3 separate regions of the Homo sapiens genome follow, and regions 2 and 3 are each linked to region 1. The links are contacts of gene promoters, found by promoter capture Hi-C in blood cells and fetal thymus (Javierre and others, 2016). All regions are on one chromosome and are shown on one strand. The core of a region is centred on a gene start or on the middle of the fragment in contact, and the rest is flanking DNA. Distances in the headings are between cores, read along the strand shown. Region 1 holds the start of ZFY (zinc finger protein Y-linked). Region 2 has its middle 12 kb from the start of RPS4Y1. Region 3 has its middle 25 kb from the start of SRY.

What was found. The method cuts DNA at HindIII sites, captures the fragments that hold promoters and counts their contacts. A CHiCAGO score of 5 or more calls a contact.
Region 2: a fragment that was not itself captured here is called in contact with the fragment with the promoter of ZFY in region 1 in 3 of 17 cell types (total CD8 T cells, naive CD8 T cells and naive CD4 T cells); the score reaches 7.9 in total CD8 T cells.
Region 3: a contact is called between a fragment that was not itself captured here and the fragment with the promoter of ZFY in region 1, in 11 of 17 cell types (M0 macrophages, M2 macrophages, naive CD4 T cells and 8 more). The highest score is 10.5, in M0 macrophages.

The regions. Positions count from the first base shown.
Region 1 is chrY:2,933,219-2,936,805 of GRCh38, reverse strand. ZFY (zinc finger protein Y-linked) reads right to left here and starts at 1,425. Exons shown (of 8, transcript NM_003411.4): 1 at 1,037-1,425. The HindIII fragment of the contact is 5,223 bases long and covers 1-3,587 here.
Region 2 is chrY:2,827,596-2,831,281 of GRCh38, reverse strand. It overlaps the pseudogene TOMM22P2. Among named protein-coding and RNA genes, the nearest start is that of RPS4Y1, 12 kb to the left of the region's middle. The HindIII fragment of the contact is 390 bases long and covers 1,209-1,598 here.
Region 3 is chrY:2,810,940-2,814,539 of GRCh38, reverse strand. No RefSeq gene overlaps it. Among named protein-coding and RNA genes, the nearest start is that of SRY, 25 kb to the right of the region's middle. The HindIII fragment of the contact is 1,060 bases long and covers 1,131-2,190 here.

The DNA.
Region 1 (3,587 bases), core at 176-2,675:
CTGTCCAACGCTCACATTACTGTGCTCCAATTTTCCAGCAAAGTTGTACAAAATGCTAACAAAAGTATTTTGAAGATGAAACTGTATAAGAAATTTCAAATAAAATCTCAATGTCATCATGGGTATATGAACCTACAAGTAATGCATGAATTGTCTTTCAAAAAGAAAAATACCTCTTCTGCCTATTTTCCATCTCTTACTCAAAAAAAGTACACGGACTAAAAAAAAGCTCGCTCGTTTAAATACAGCTCATCAAAAAAGTGTTTCCACATAAATGGGAAAAGTCGCCTTGGGGAAATTTTATTCCTCTGCCCTCGTGCTGTATAATTTGTACTGTACTGTCTATTGGACGAGTGCCTAATAACTTTTTCATAATAAATTCCAGTTCTATTTTGCAGATCCTCGAAGAGGCAATGATGGTTGAAAAATAAGCGCATCGAAGGTCCCCGAACAGCCACATAATGACTTTAATTAGGGGAAAATAAAATTTTCTGGAATTTATGTGCTCTCGTGAGCCTAGATGCCCGAATTGCCACCTGCTGAAACGGGTGGCTGTAGACTCTCGGAAGGGCACAGAGCCGGGAGCGCTGAGGGGCGAAATGACCCCGGCGCCCGAACGGACGCCTGCGGCATGTCACCTAAAGCGTAGCCGACACTGCACCCAGCCAAGGATGGGCTGTGAGGGGAAGGCCGAAAGGTGGCGCTGCCGCAGGCGTCTGGAACGTACGCGCGCATATGGCGACAAAGGCAAGGGCCGCCAAGGGAACGAGCACGCCCTGTTGCGCAGACACGCCGTCGCGCCGGAGGCTGCGCTGCCGCCGCCGCCGCCGTCCTTTTCCCCATCCCCGCCTCAAGGATCATAACCGAATTTTTTTTCCAGATACCGCCTTCAAGATGGCGGCTCCGCCTCCCGACAACACTCTCAATACTCCCCAGCAGCAGGCGCCTAGCAGCCGCCATCTTGCCCCCCCGTCCCTCCTCCCCTTCGCGGACATTTACATAGCGAAAATAGGCCCAGCAGGCCTCCGGCCTTCACCTCACGCCTGCAGCCTTCGCCTTCTCGCCCCCGTGCCGTGCCCTGCGTCCGCAGTGGTGTCGACCCCAGGTCCATCAACTGCCTTCCGGACAAACGGGCGAACTTTTCCCACCCTGCCCGCTTATGGAGCGCACCTCCGCAGCCGCTCAGGGCAACTGGATAATCACTAGGCCTAACTGCGGCCTCCTCGGGGCCTGTTCGGCGCCGAGCGCCACGCCGGCCGGCCTAGCGCGGGAGGGCGCCCTACGGGACGCCGACCAGGCCACAAACAGGTTACTGCGCGCGCACTAGGCCCCGCGGCCGCGGGGGCACGCGGGACTCACCCGACGGATGTGCGGGCGGTCGGCGACAGCGGCGGGTGCTGCAGGACGGCCTTTCTCTGGAGCACTGGGCCGGGCTCCGGCTGGTAGGGCGGGCGGAGGGAGGGAGGAGGGGCCGAGTTCGGAGCTGACAAAAAGCGGCCCAGCTCCCCGGCACGGGCCCGCCGTCAGCACGTCACGTCACCGCCCGGGAGAGAGACCCAGGAAAATGCGGGATGGTAGTTGGGCCCCCTCCGCCCGGTGGGCCTCTCGGCGCCCCGGGTCGGCGCCGGTCACGCCCCGAGTCCGGGGAGTCCAGTGACCTCACTGCGGTGGGGTCTCCGGCAGCTGGAGTTTCCGTCACAACGTTCCTTTTCTCCGCGCGCCCGCCGTCACCACTACTTGCGCACCACCGCCTTAGTTGGTTGCGTGCAGGCAAGCGGCCCCGCACCGGGCCAGGCCACCCCCTGCCATCTCCGGTGGACCTGGGATTCCTAATCTCCCACACCCTGCGCCAGGCTCTCCCGAGACCTATCGCCTCTCGGCGCCAGTCCTAGCCAAGGCGACAGATCTCATTGTTGCAGGCCCTTAGACCCCCGCCCTCAGTAAACGTGTTTACTTTATTCCTAGGGTTGAGGAGGAAAGCAGATACAGACATATAGCATTCCCCACTGTCTCCTTTGTTGGCTTTAAAAAAAAAAAAAAAGAAAGTAAATGGACTTGCCACAGTGTACAGGCAAGAGGAGGGGAGGATTATCCTAATCAATTACTGAGCCAATTGATTTTTTTTTTTGCGTTAACGTAGGTATTTTGACCAAGATTTGTAATGTCTAGTGTGTGTTCTTTATGGCAGTGTTTCATCTTTTGGCATCCTTGAAATGTCAGTTTTGTGTAATTGTCTCATGAACAATGAATTATGCACACCCTTTAATAAATGTAAACTAACAATTGGTTTTGGGATTGTCTTCTTACAAAATTATTTATCCTCTTAAAGTTTAAAAAGGCTTTAGAGACTGAGAGGAAAATGCATTTGATTAAACAGATAGTACTGATGAACTCCAAAAACGTGTATTGTGCGTTTTCATTACTTTACGTTTTAATGCACTCTAATTTCCCATTAAACTAGGTACCCAAACTGTGTTTAAAAGTTGCTACTAAAAAGTTAAACATGCCTATCGCGGTCGCTCACCTCTGAGCGCTTTGGGAGGACAAGGCTGGAGTATCGCTTGAGGCCAGCAGATACAGGCGGACAGCTGTGATCAAGCCACTGCACTGCAGCCTGTGGGCCAGAGCCGGTAATCTCTAAATGTAGAGGCCAGGTATTTCAGTTTTCTAGCATACCTATTTTTAAAACTCAGAAATCATCTTGTCCTTAACTGAGAAACCTAAAAATCATAAAATGCTTTACGAAAGGAAAACCAGTGGTACATAGTTGATATAATGAGTTAAGTGCTGGATAGCAATTCTCTTTTCAAACCATTGGTTTGACCTTGTTTTCTCAAGTCGTTACCTTTTGTTTCAAAAATGATAAATGAGAGGCGGCTCACCCCTGTAATTCCAAAACACTTTGGAAGGCTGAGATAAAATCAGCTTGTGCTCAACTGATAGTTGGAGACAAGCCTGGAAAATAGGGCGATCCATCTGTACAAAAAAATTGAAAAGTGCTGGGTGTGGTGGAACACGCCTGTAGTCCCAGCTATGGGAGGCTTAAGCCCATTTGTTTGGGCTATGATTGTGATACCACACTCCAGCCTTTATGACAGAGCAAGATCTTGTATTTAAATAAATAAAATCTTGTTTGAGAAATTTTCATCAAGTTAAGACAATGTATTTTGAGGAAAGAAAAGTATTTTTACATTATGTTTTTCAGTAAAAAAAACTAGCCTAATTTCATATGTAATTAACATAATTTCAAAATACTGATAACGTTCAAGTTTTTAGAGATGGTACCTGGCTCTGCCACGCAGGCTGGAGTGCAGTGGCACCTTCGTAGCTCACTCAGCCTTGAACTCTCTAGTTCAGTGTAACAGCCATGGCCTCCCAAAGCACTGGGATTACAGCTGTAAATCAAATATTTTCCAAAGGCCTTCATTTAATGTCCTTATGGTATGTCAAGAATGGGGTCTCATGTCAACTGTAAGCAACATGGTCAGAACACAAAAAACAAAGTAAACATTATTGTTAATACTTACATGCTTATCAAAAATCCTAGTATTATTATAAAAAATTACCAATATATAAAGCACTTCAGA
Region 2 (3,686 bases), core at 154-2,653, 110 kb after region 1:
TTAGTGCTTCCTTTAGGAGCTCTTGTAAGGCAGTTCTAATGGTGACAAAAATCTCTCAGCATTTGCTTGTCTGTAAAGGATTTTGTTTCTCCTACATTTATGAAGCTTACTTTGGCTGGATATGAAATTCTGGGTTGAAAATTCTTTTTTTTTAAAGAATGTTGAATATTGGCTCCCACTCTCTTCTGGCTTGTAGGATTTCTGCAGAGAGATCTGCTGTTAGTCTGATGGGCTTCCCTTTGTGGATAACCCGACCTTTCTCTTTGGCTGCCCTTAACATGTTTTCCTTCATTTCAACCTTGGTGAATCTGACAATTACATGTCTTGGGGTTGTTCGTCTCAAGGAATATCTTTGTGGTGTTCCCTGTATTTCCTGAATTTGAATGTTGGCCTGCCTTGCTAGGTTGGGGAAGTTCTTCTGGATCATATCCTGAAGAGTGTTTTGCAACTTGGTTCCATTCTCCCCCATCACTTTCAGGTACACCAGTCAAATGTAGATTTGGTCTTTTCACATAGTCCCATATTTCTTAGAGGCTTTATTCATTCCTTTTTATTCTTTTTTCTATAATCGTGTCTTTTATCTTTATTTCATTAAGTTGATCTTCCATGTCTGATATCCTTTCTTCCTCTTGATTGATTCAGCTAGTGATACTTGTGTATGCTTCACAGAGTTCTTGGGCTGTGTTTTTCAGCTCCATCGGGTCATTTATGTTCTTCTCTAAACTGGTTATTCTAGCTAGCAATTCCTCTAACCTTTTTTCGAGGTTTTTAGTTTCCTTGCATTGGGTTAGAACATGCTCCTTTAGTTCAGAGGAGTTTGTTATTACCCACCTTCTGAAACCTACTTCTGTCAATTCATCAAACTCATTCTCCACCCATTTTTCTTCCCTTGAGGATGAGGAGTTGTGTTCCTTTGGAGGAGAAGAGGCATTCTGCTTTTCGGAATTTTCAGCCTTTTTGCGCTGGTTTCTCCCCATCTTTATGGATTTATCTACCTTCGGTCTTTGATGTTGGTGACCTTCTGATGGGGTCTCTGAATGGATGTGCTATTCCTTTCTGTTTGTTAGTTTTCCTTCTAACAGTCAGCCCCTCTGCTGCAGGCCTGCTGGAGTTTGCTGGAGGTCCACTCCAGACCCTGTTTGCCTGGGTGTCACCAGCAGAGGCTGCAGAACAGCAATGGTTGCTGCCTGTTCTTTCCTCTGGAAGCTTCATTCTAGGGGGATACCCACCATCGTACAGGAGATGCCAACCAGAGCTCTCCTGTATGAGGCGTCTGTCAGCTCCTACTGGGAGAAGTCTCCTAGTCAGGATACACAGGGGTCAGGGACCCACTTGAGGCAGTAGTCTGACCCTTAGCAGAGCTCAAACGCTGTGCTAGGAGATCCGCTGCTCTCTTCAGAGCTGACAGGCAGGAACATTTAAGTCTGTAGAAGCTGCCCACAGCTACCCCTTCCCCCAGGTATTCTGTCCCAGGGTGATGGGGGTTTGGTCTATAAGCCCCTGACTGGGGCTCTTGCCTTTTTTTTTTAGAGATGCCACGCCCAGAGAGAAGGAATCTAGAGAGGCAGTCTGACCACAGCAGCCTTGCTGTGAAAGCTTTTTACAGTTTGGATCTTCTGAGAACATCAAAGAAAAACTGACCTTGCCATCCACACTACAGCAAAACTTAAGGACCTTGAACTTTAGGTTTATCATCTCACAGCTGAGAAGGGTCCCTCCACACTCTTGGAACTGTACATCCATTGGAACCCTTAAGGTAAAACTAACCAGGGAGGTTTCTCCCCAGAAGAGCATGCTGTCTTTGATGTAAGCAACTTTTCTAAAGTTCACAGATTAAGACTTCTACTATCATGAAACTTATCTTTGAAAATTTTATCTTGCTATGGCTCTATGAACAATAGAAATGGAAAGGAGGTCTCTTATATGCACTTATGGGGTGTACTTTTATTTGTGAATGTGTTTACAGCCAGCCTTATACATGGATAACTTTATACTTTGGTGGATACAAGATAAAGGCCCAATGTCAGTAAGAAACTTTAATGGTACATACATTGCCTCATAATCAATCAGAAACAAAATATTGGTTCATTCCTCTTAACCCACATCATGGGTTAAAGAGAACATTACCAGGAGGCCTTCACTCTTCCTGAAAGGCATCATTTGTTAGGTTTTTCTTCCATGGTTTAAAATAGAAGAAGCAATGATTACAAATGTATGCTCATGATAGGCTGTATAGCAAATTCCACTGTAAAGGATGCAACAAACTTTAAATTCTCTTTTGGAGTTCACACAGAATTGGCAGAACAGAGAAGTATCTCTCCAGTTGCTGGTACTCATGGCCTACTGGAAAAATTCACTGGTAGAAGATTAATGAAAAGACTGCTTAGTTAAGTATGTAGACTCTTTATCTAGCTTATCCTTTGATCTATTTAATCTTAAGTTCTGGTTTGTGGTACCTTAGGTAAAGAGCATACTCCAACTTCTTGGTATTATCCTCCCAATAGTCATGATAATACTCTCCCTGATGTGCTGTTGTTCTCTCAAAGGTTTTAAATGCTTGCCTGCAGCCATCTCTAGAATGGTCTCTCTTCAACTGGAATGACAAGAGCTGAAAGAAATCTGCAACCAGGCCAGGCACGGTGGCTCACACGTCTAATCCCAGCACTTTGGGAGGCCATGGTGGGTAGATCATGAGGTCAGGAGTTCAAGACCAGCATGACCAACATTGTGAAACCCCGTCTCTACTAAAAATACAAAAAAAATTAGCTGGGCGTGTGGCACGCACATGTAATCCCAGCTACTCAGGAGACTAAGGCAGGAGAATCGCTTGAACTGGGGAGGTAGATATTGCAATGAGCCGAAATCACACCACTACACTCCTGCCTGGGCGACAAGAGCGAGACTTCGTTTCAAAAAAAAAAAAGAAAGAAAGAAAAAGAAATCTGCAACATAACCTATGAATGATGTGCTGAGATGGGAAACCCAAAATGATGGTAAATCAGAGTGGCACTAAGGCCATTGTCTCACCATGGCAACCCAAAAAACAGCAGTCACAGTCTAGGTCTTTCCAGAAAGTAAATGTAGAGCCCCTGACAGAACACATTCCTCCTTACAGCACTATAATGCTGGAGAAGTGTCTGCTGCAGCTGCCATTGTTGCTGTTGTTCCATTTGCAACTTCTCAGTCTCAAAGATGACAGCAAGAACCAGGATCATAAAGGAGGTGGTCCTAATTGACAAGGCTGCTATGGAAAACCTATGCATAGTCTTAGCCACAAAGAGTGAAAGATCAAAAGTGGCTTCATCTATGGAGCCATTTTATGTTATTTGATAGCATAAAATTAACATGAAATGAAAATGTAAAGAGATGGGCAGGCATGATGGCTCACACCTATAATCCCAGTGCTTTGAAAGACTAAGGCAAGAGGATTGCTTCAGCCCAGGAGTTTGAAGTTGCAGTGAGCTATGGACCTGCCATTGCACTCCAGCCTGGGTGACAGAGGAACATCCTGTTTTTAAAATAAAATAAAAAAAGATAAAACATAAATAAAATATAAAGAGATGACTTTTCAAGCAAAGGGTCTATTTGGGAAAATACAAGAATTTCAAAGCCAGGTGAAGTGGCTTATTCCTGTAATCCCAGCACTTTGGGAGGCAATGGTGGATCACATGAGACTAGGAGTTTGA
Region 3 (3,600 bases), core at 411-2,910, 120 kb after region 1:
CACAGGAACAGTAAACCAAATACCCCCATGTTCTTCACTTATAAATGGTAGCTATGAATTAAGAACTCCAGGGCCTACTTGAGGAGGATTGAAAAACTACCTATCAGATATCACACTGATTACCTGAGTAACAAAATTATCTGTACACAAAATACCCATGACATGCAACTTACCTATGTAACCAGCTTGCCCACGTACCCCTTGAACCTAAAATAAAAGTTGAAAAGAAAACAACAACAACAATGTTATTTATTTATTTATTTCCTTGCTTATTTATATATTTATTTTTTGAATCAAATTGTCACTCTCTTGCCCAGGCTGGAATGCGGTGGCATGATCTTGACTCACTGAAACCTCCATCTCCAGGGTTCATGTGGTCCTCCCACCTCACCCTCCCAAGTAACTGGGACTACAGGTGCACACACCACACCTGGCTAATTTTTGTGTTTTTCGCAGATAATGTGTTTTGGTATTTTTTGTGGATAATGTGGATAGCCATGATACCATGGCTAACTCTGGTAAATTTGTTTTTTGATTATCCTTCTGGTTAAAAAATGACTACTTTTTTTTTTAAGTGACCTACGAGTTTGTTTCAATCAAGTGTTCTGTGCCTTTTAACATCTTTGGCAAACTTGCCCAAAATCAAATGCTAAATGTAAATCCCTTTAACCTAGAATTAATGTTTGAATTTTCCAGTTGGGCCCCTGAAAAGACTCAAAAGACATATCTCTCACCTTTTGGAGATATTAGATGATTAGGCCTATTTGATAAATTACATAAGAAATGGCTATTGTTTGAATATTTGACCCTCCAAACCTCCTGTTGAAATATTATCCCCAACGCTGGAGGTGCAGCCTAATGGATCATCTTTGGGTCATGGAGGTGGGTCCCTTGTGTACAGATTAATGCCCTTTCTGGGAGAGGACAGCGAATCAGTTTTCACTCTATCATCTCCCTCAAGAGTTGATGGTTAAAAAGAGGCTGGCCCCTCCCTCTCTTTCCCCTTGCCCCTGTCATTTCTCTAGTTCCCTCTCTGGCCATATAATCTCTTCAGAGGCTGCCTCCCCTTTCCTTTCCATGAGTGGAAGCAGCCTGAAGCTGTCACCAGAAGCTGATGTTAATTCCAAGCTTCATATATAGCCCATAGAACTGTGAGCTACATGAACCTCTTTGTAAGTTACACAGAATCAGATATGCCTTTACAGCAACACAACTGCACTGAGACAGAAATATGTAATACTAGATCTTTTTTTTTTTTAGATGTATTCTCAATGTGTCTCTCAGGCTGGAGTAGAGTGGTAAGATATCGGCTCACTGCAACCTTCTCCCCCTGGGTTCAGGCGATTCTTCTGCCTCAGCTTCCTAAGTTAGCTGGGATTACAGGCACCCACAATCACACCCAGCTACTTTTTGTATTTTTAGTAGAGATGAGGTTTTACCATGTTGGCCAGGCGGGTGTTGAACTGCTGACCCTCAAGTGATCCACCTGTCTTGACCTTCCAAAGTACTGGGATTACAGGCATGAGCCTGCGCACCTGACCAATACTAGATCTTCCTTTCATTGCACTTACGGGTTAATATAAATATTTCAAAATTAGGCTGGGCACGGTGGCTCAAGCCTATAATCCCAGAACTTTGGGAAGCCAAGATGGGTGGATCACAAGGTCAGGAGATCAAGACCATCCTAGCTAACATGGTGAACCCCATCTTTACTAAAAATACAAAAAATTAGCTGGGCGTGGTGGCAGGTGCCTGTAGTCCCAGCTACTCAGGAGGCTGAGGCAGGAGAATGGTGTGAACCTGGGATGCGGAGCTTGCAGTGAGCCAAGACTGTGACACTGTATTCCAGCCTGGGTGACAGAGTGAGACTCCATCTCAAAAAAAAAAAATTCAAAATTATATAAATTCATAGATCTCTAATATCAGTCATTATTCTTGTGTTTATCTTAAAATGCTATATGTAAATGAAATATCCAAATATCCTTGTTAACTATAAACTTTCATTAGATTTTTAACCATGGCTACTCTAAGCCAACATGCAAATTCAGGAAATACAGAGAACACCATTAAGATATACTACAAGAAGATCAACCCCAAGACACACAATCATCAGATTCTATAAGGTCCATATGCAGGAAAAAATGTTAAGGGCAGCAGAGAGAAAAGTCAGATCACCTCCAAAGGGAAGCTTATCAGACTAACAGTGGAATACTCAGCAGAAACCCTACAAGCCAGAAGAGAGTAGGGGTCAATACTCAACATTCTTAAAGAAAAAAATTTTCAACCCAGAATTTCATATCTGGCCAAACTAAGCCTCATAATCAAAGGAGAAATAAAATCCTTTTCAGACATATGAGTGCTGGAAGAATTTATCACCACCAGGCCTGCCTTACAAGAGCTCCTAAAGGAAGCACTAAATATGGAAAGGAAACACCAGTATCAGCCACTGCAAAACACATGAAATTATAAAGACCAATGACAGAGTGAAGAAATAGCATCAACTAGTGTGCAAAATAACCAGCTAGCATCAAGATGACAGGATCAAATTTACAAATAACAATATTAGCCTTAAATGTAAAGGGCTAAATGACCCAATTAAAAGACACAGCCTGGGAAACTGGATAGAGTCAAGACCTGTCGGTGTACTGTATTCAAGAGTACACACTTTACTCAGAATAAAAGGATAAAGGAAAATGTATCAAGCAAATGGAAAGCAGAAAAAAACTAGGGGTTGCGATTGTAGTCTCTGATAAAACAGACTTTAAGCCAACAAATATCAAAAAGACAAGTGTGGTCCATTCCAAAATGGCTGAATAGGAAGAGCTCTGGTCTGCAGCTCCCAGCATGATCAATGCAGAAGAGAGTGATTTCTGCATTTCCAACTGAGGTAACTGGTTCATCTCATTGGAACTGGTTGGACAGTGGGTGCAGCCCATGGAGGGTAAGCTGAAGCAGGGTGGGGCATCGCATTTCCTTTCCTAGCCAAGGGAAGCCATGACAGATTGTACCTGGAAAATTGGGACACACCTGCCCAAATACTGTGCTTTTCCAACAGTCTTAGCAAACGGCATACCAGCAGATTATATCCCATGCCTGGCTCAGCAGGTCCCATGCCCATGGAGCCTTGCTCATTGCTAATGCAGCAGGCTGAGTTCTACCTGCAAGCAGCAGCCTGGCAGCAGGAAGTGTGTCCACCATTGCTGAGGCTTGAGTAGGTAAACAAAGAGTCTGGGGAAGCTTGAACTGGGCAGAGCCCACCTCAGCTCTGCAAGGCCTGCTGCCTCTGTAGACCCCACCTCAGGGCAGGTCATAGCTGAGCAAAAGGCAGCAGAAAATTCTTCAGTCTTAAACGTCCCTGTCTGAAAGCTCTGAAGAGAGCAGTGGTTCTCCCAGCATAGTGTTTGAGCTCTGAGAATGGACAGACTGCCTCCTCAAGTGGGTCCCTGAACCCCATGTAGCCTAACTGGGAGAAACCTCCCCTTAGGGGCTGACTGACACCTCATACAGGCAGAAGACCCTCTGGGATGAAGCTTCCAGAGGAAGGATCAGGCAGCAATATTTGCTGTCCTGCAATATTTGCTGTTCTGCAGTCTCTGCTGG